2 separate regions of the Homo sapiens genome follow, and region 2 is linked to region 1. Evidence: promoter capture Hi-C in 16 types of primary human blood cells and fetal thymus (Javierre and others, 2016). All regions are on one chromosome and are shown on one strand. Each heading gives the region's core, a stretch centred on a gene start or on the middle of the fragment in contact. The rest is flanking DNA. Distances are from core to core; before and after follow the strand shown.

What was found. The method cuts DNA at HindIII sites, captures the fragments that hold promoters and counts their contacts. A CHiCAGO score of 5 or more calls a contact.
Region 2: a contact is called between a fragment that was not itself captured here and the fragment with the promoter of CHRNB2 in region 1, in 1 of 17 cell types (total B cells). The highest score is 5.4, in total B cells.

The regions. Positions count from the first base shown.
Region 1 is chr1:154,566,032-154,569,196 of GRCh38, forward strand. It overlaps CHRNB2 (cholinergic receptor nicotinic beta 2 subunit), which reads left to right and starts at 1,747. Exons shown (of 6, transcript NM_000748.3): 1 at 1,747-2,077. The coding sequence starts at 2,014. It overlaps LOC107985206 (a long non-coding RNA gene), which reads right to left and starts at 1,686. Exons shown (of 2, transcript XR_001738238.3): 1 at 1,393-1,686; 2 at 1-151. RefSeq lists a silencer at 1,918-2,047. The HindIII fragment of the contact is 2,216 bases long and covers 1,281-3,165 here.
Region 2 is chr1:155,168,195-155,171,359 of GRCh38, forward strand. It overlaps KRTCAP2 (keratinocyte associated protein 2), which reads right to left. Exons shown (of 5, transcript NM_173852.4): 4 at 1,597-1,663; 5 at 1,214-1,366. The coding sequence ends at 1,246. Among named protein-coding and RNA genes, the nearest start is that of KRTCAP2, 3.5 kb to the right of the region's middle. The HindIII fragment of the contact is 6,676 bases long and covers 1-3,165 here.

The DNA.
Region 1 (3,165 bases), core at 497-2,996:
TAAGAGATTATTGTGCGCTTACACATGCGCATGCCCCGGAACAAGTCGTGCAGATTTACGCCCATTTCCATGTGCATCATGGGGTCTGTAGTCCTTCTACTTCTCCAGTCCTCTTCTAGAACTTTTCTGCTTCTTCCCTTAATTCCACGACCTGGGGACATGGTCAATAAGTTGCTTTTAGCTGGGCTTTTATTTATTTATTTGTTTAGTTTTTGAAATGGGGTCTTGCTTCATTGCCCAGGCTGGAGTGCAGTTGCGCCATCATGCCCCAAACTGCAGCCCCGACCTCCCTGGCTTAAGTGATCCTCCCACCTCAGCCTCTCGAGTAGCTGGGACTATAGGCACACACCATCATGCCCGACTAATTTTTAAACTTTTTGTACACACGTGATCTCATTATGTTGCCCAGGCTGGTTTCAAACGCCTGGGCTCAAGTGATCCTTCTGCCTCAGCCTTTGAAAGTGCTGAGATTACGGGCTTAAGTCACCTCTCCTGGTCCCTAGCTGAGCTTTTAGAGAGAAATTTTCCCTACACATTAAAAAGTGTCAGTCCAGTACTAGCCCTTTTCCTTACCTGTTGAGCCCTTATAATAATATGCCAGGCACTGTGTTGATTCATAATCTAGAGAGGCAGCCACTGCCTCAGGTGGATTCATTTATTCATTGGACATGCTCTGGAAACATATAACAAAGTATCTGATCTAGTTCTTGGTCAGGCGCAGCTTCCTTAAGGAATTGACATTCCTGCCAAATGCTCAAAGTTAAGTAGAAGGTGATGAGGGGAACATGGGTTATAAAAGAGCCCAAGAGAACCATGCATTTAAGTCCCTGAAGTGTGGGGGATGATGGGACGGATAAGATGTTCAAGGATCCTGAAGACCTTGCCAATAGTTGGAATGTGGAGCTGGGGGTGGAGTGACCCAGATGAGGTTGAAGTAAGCAGGGACAAAACAGGACAGAGCCTTGCTGTATGCTAAGTCTGCTTTAGTCAGGAATCTTTTGGTTGAAAGTGACAACGAACCCACTGAAGGAAAAAAAGGGGCTAAGAGTTCAGGGTTCTCATCTTTGGTCTCCTTTGTGTTAGCTTCTCTCTTGATCAGGCCTCTGTGAGTGGTCTCTGATCTCCCTAGTCACACAGAAGCCAACAGCTGGAGTCAAGAGAAGGGGGTGAGGAAGGCCGATGAATAGGGGCTACTTGTCTTTCCACTATTACCCTCAAGTCTACCTTCTTTGCAGGCAAGTCTAGACCTCCTCAGGTAGACCCTCAGTGGGAGGGCAGGAAGCTTAGCCTTTTAGACTCCAAAGCCGTTTGCTTTCTTAAAAATAGCAAACCCACAGCCCCCTATCTCTTTAAGGGGCTAAACACATTTTCTCTGCTGTATCCTCAGCCTACCTGGGGAGCAGGACCATTTGGGTTTGGTAAGAGAAAAAAGGAGGGCGAAAACCCCGGACACTCCTCCTGTCTCCCGACGCTCGTTCTGGCCGTCTGGCCCTCAGTACTAAGCAGGCCCTGACCTACTTGTCTTACTCTTGCTGCTTCTTCCCGCCGGGCCTCTTGCCCCTTCTCCGACCATGCTGCAGGTCCTGCCCCAACTTTAGGACTTCAGAACTCCTCCACCGTGCCGTGGAGGAACAGCCCTTCTTCCACCTCACGCACACCCTACCACGGCAGAACCAATCGAAGACTATCCCAGCCGGGGACCCCCCTTTTTTTTCCTGGGACCCAGCGTTTCCGCCTCCGGGGCGCAGACTCCTCCCCCTCACCGTCCCAATTGTATTCCCTGGAAGAGCAGCCGGAAAAGCCTCCGCCTGCTCATACCAGGATAGGCAAGAAGCTGGTTTCTCCTCGCAGCCGGCTCCCTGAGGCCCAGGAACCACCGCGGCGGCCGGCACCACCTGGACCCAGCTCCAGGCGGGCGCGGCTTCAGCACCACGGACAGCGCCCCACCCGCGGCCCTCCCCCCGGCGGCGCGCTCCAGCCGGTGTAGGCGAGGCAGCGAGCTATGCCCGCGGCATGGCCCGGCGCTGCGGCCCCGTGGCGCTGCTCCTTGGCTTCGGCCTCCTCCGGCTGTGCTCAGGTAAGGGAAAGACGGGCACTGGCCAGGTTCTCCTACCCCAGCCAACGGCCCAAGACTCGCCGCCCTCTGACTCACCCCTGCTAGGCCGGAAGGTGGAAGAAGGGATTCCCTAGAGGTGGGGGAGTCTGCTGGAGGTTAGGGGAGAGCCCCCCGGGACTGCAGAGAGCACCTGGGAGGCTGGACTGGGAACGAGACATACTCGAAGGAGTAAGTGAAGCAAGAAAGAGATGGAAACCTGGCCAGCGGTGGTAGGGGTGGTGCAGGCACAGAGAGCAAGGAGGCAGGGGATCTCCCCAGGCGTCCTGGGGTGGCAGGAGGCCGGCTCTGAGGGCGCTAAGATGCCATCTGACTTTTTGTGAAACATTATCTCAAGAAAGGTACCTGGACCAGCACCCCTCCCCGGGCTCCCCATCGTTTCCCATCCCCCACATTGGGCTCCAGATTCTCGTCACCCCTCAGGGGCAGAGAAGGGGAGAAAACGGAACGGACTTTTCAACCCTCCTGTAGGGTGGGACAGGAGGCTTGGAAGGGAAGAAGCTCTGCCAGGCTGAGGACTAGGAAGGAACTCTCTGAGGGGATGGGGAGGGGTGTGTTCGTGCAGAGTTGCAGAGGGGGATGCAGTGTGCCGGGGAGGGGCAGGTACAAAGGGAATGCACAACTGAATGAGCTTTCCACACCTACAGGCCACCTCTAGGGGTGGGCTGCTGTGTGTGTGAAACTTGGGGCTACATATATGCCTGACCCACAGCTTAGGCAGCCCAGCTATTCCACTCCAACCCAGTGCCTTTAGGGAGAGGGGAGGATGGCATCGTGACCACAGTCACATGTCATTACGTGAGGCACATAATGTCATTTGCACATGTAAATGGTGAACGGGAACAGTTATTTGTGTCCCACCACACATACACTTTCTCCTCAATCGGCAGGAGAAAGGATGTGTGTGGTGGGACACAAATAACTGGGACAAATAACTGTTCACCTTCACTGCCCTGCTAAACCTCCCTTGAGTCATAGGTATTTGCTGGGGAAGCCATGGAAGCAGAAATCTCAAACTGCCCTCTGAGACTTTGGGGGAAGAGCAGGTCTCC
Region 2 (3,165 bases), core at 376-2,875, 600 kb after region 1:
TCTTATTCCCTAACTCAGGCACCTATGGACAGGATTTTGTTTGTCAGGGCAGGTTATTTCATTCAACTAACCCACCTTTTTTTTTTTTGAGACAGAGTTTCACTGTCGTTCAGGTTGGAGTGCAGTGGCGCAATCTCCACCCACTGCAACCTCCACCTCCTGGGTTCAAGCGATTATCGTGCCTCAGCCTCCCAAGTAGCTGGGACTACAGGCACACACCACCACACCTGGCTAATTTTTGCATTTTTCATAGAGATGGGGTTCCCCATGTTGGCCAGGCTAGTCTCAAACTCCTGACCTCAAGTGATCCACCCACCTCAGCCTCCCAAAGTGCTGGGATTACTGGCTTGAGCCACCATGGCTGGCCCAACCCACCAGTCTTTATTGTCCATTATCAGGCTCTGGAAAAAACAAAGCTGACCAAGATGAGGTGTATACCCTAAAACACACGCCATTCAGCACGAGGGACGGCACCTAGGACGGGCACTCTGCATAGAGTTGTTCCTCATGACAGAGCACAGACAGGGCAGGGTGCAAGTAGCCACCTGCATTTCCATCAAGGTGGGCTCAGAGGTTGGTGTCCTTGCTCCTATTGTTTTATATACTTCGCTACAATTTAGGAAGTTCCCATTGTCTTGGCTACAAGATGGGGAAAAAATGAAAGCACCAGAACAAACAGGCTAGGAGCAGTTGATCACCTGGGGAGTCTTTCTAAACACAGCCATATGTTCATGCTGAAGTAGAACAGATAGGTCCCAGGGACAGCATCAGGAGAGAAGTCCCACCTATGCACTTGCAGCAGGGGGCTGATTTGCTTAAGGCAGGGAGCTGGAGTGGCAAAGATACCACGTGGAACCCCGTGAAACAGTGTAGGTATACGGGACCTTTCCTTCCTTTACTCTTTTGCTCCAAGATCCCTTCTGGTACTGACGGACAGGACTTCCTGCATTGCAGCCTTTACCCCTTTCCCCAAAGAACACGACTGCAGAACATTCATGTACTTTTCTTCCATGATGAGACTCACACAAGTATATGCCACTCCAGTGGCACTGACAGTATTCAACAGATAACTGGTAAAAATTAATGTGGGAGGAAGGAAAGCCTCACTATTCCCAAGGTCTGAAAACAGAAGGTGCCCAAATGTCTTAACATTCTGTACATCTAAGCTGGATACTGGTAGATGACACCCACAACATATCACAACTCACAGAGCTACAAAGAATCAACTTTATTGAACATTCAGGGTCAGTTTCTCTTCTTGCTCTTGCCTGTGACCTTGGCTGGTGTGAGGACTGGAGCTGCTGCCTGGTACAGGGTGGAGGAGATCTTGTTGATGTAGTACAGACCAACCATGGAGAAGATGAAGCTATATGGTGAAGACAGAAAGGTCATGGCACCAGTGGGCATCTGCCAGCCTGGTGCCTCCTAGGGAAGACACTAGCATCAAGGAAAGAATCCAAGTTCAAGTTTAGGAAAACGGGGAGGGAGAACAGAGAGAGAGGTAGGTGTGGAAGGAAAAACTCTGGCACCATCACAGTAAGATCCAATGCCAAAAAACGGAATGCTACACCCCTTACCCAGCTGTCAAGAACATACCAGGTGGTGACACAGACTCGGTGGATGAGGCCAGATGCAAAGAGAGCCAACAGGAGGCACAGGAGAACTAGGGAGGCAAGAAGAACAAGGAGGGCAACGGTCAGAATGGAAATACTAGGCATCTGCACATGGAGTCCAGGAGAAATCCGGGGCTCTCTGAATCCTGGGGAACCTGCTTAGAAGGGTAAGCGTGACTACAGCAGGAGGATTCTGATTACCTTAATGATACCCAGAACATGGAGGTAGGAGGTTGAGTGTGGTGGCTTGCACCTGGAATCCCAGCACTTCGGGAGGCTGAGGTGGGCAGATCACTTGAGCCCAGGAGTTTGAGACCAGCCTGAACAACAAAGTGAGACCCATCTCTTAAAAAAAAAAAAAATTGAATTAAAAAAAATTTAGCCAGGTAGTACAGTGGTACACATGCCTGTAGTCCCAGCTATTCAGGAGGCTGAAGTTGGAGGAACCCTTGAGCCAGGAAGTTCAAAGTTGCAGTGAACTGTGATCGCACCACTGCACTCCAGCCTGGGCAACAGAGTGAGACCCCGTCTCCAAAAAAAAAAAAAAAAAAAAAGAACATGGATGTAGATGTATGCTTTTTTTTACCAGCTCTGCCCCATATCTCACATAACTTCCCTACCCTGGCTTTCCTCCCATAAAAGGAAAAAGGAAAGGTGATGGACAACAGAGTCTGAAGGGCAAGGTGTGTTCCCATTTGGGGAACCCAGTTAAACCCTTTCCAAAAGAAGCCAGACAATGAGAGTCAATTCATTAAGCTGGGTGACCAGTGGTGGAAGTTGAAGGCCTTGCTCCCTGGACACAGGTTGGAGGGCAGAGTGCTTGGATCTACTTCTTCATGGGGGCAGGAAAGGATTTTAGGTTACCTGGAATATGATGGGAGAGAAGGTGAGAGGACAAAAGCAAAGACAAACAGGGCCCCACCTGCCCAGGTGGAGAGGGCAGAGAAGGCAAAGTGGGCCAAGAACTTTGCCCCACCACAATGGCATCTTTTCTTTTTTTATTATTTTTTTTTATTTTTGAGGCAGAATCTCACTCTGTCGCCCAGGCTGGAGTGCAGTGGTGCAGTTTCAGCTCACTGCAGCCTTGATCTCCTGGGCTCAAGCGATCATCCCACCTCAGCTTCCCGAGTACCTGGGACTATAGGTGCGTACCACCATGCCCGGCTAATTTTTGTATTTTTTTGGAGAGACAGGGTCTCTCTATGTTGCCCAAGCTGGTCTTGAATTCCTGGGCCCAAGCTATCTGCCAGCCTACACCTCCCAAAGTGCTAGGATTACAGGCGTGTGCCATCCCACCCAGCCAATGGTTTCTTTCAGAAGCAACTGAAAAGCCAGGCACAGTGGCTCACCCCTGTAATCCCAGCACTCTGGGAGGCCAAGACGGGTGGATCACTTAAGGTCAGGAGTTCAAGACCAGCCTAACCAACATGGTGAAATCCTATCTCTACCAAAAATACAAAAATTAGCCAGTTATGGTGGCGCACGCATGTAATCCCAGCTACTCGGGAGGCTGAGGCAGGAGAATCGCTTGAACCTGGGAGGCAGAGGCTCC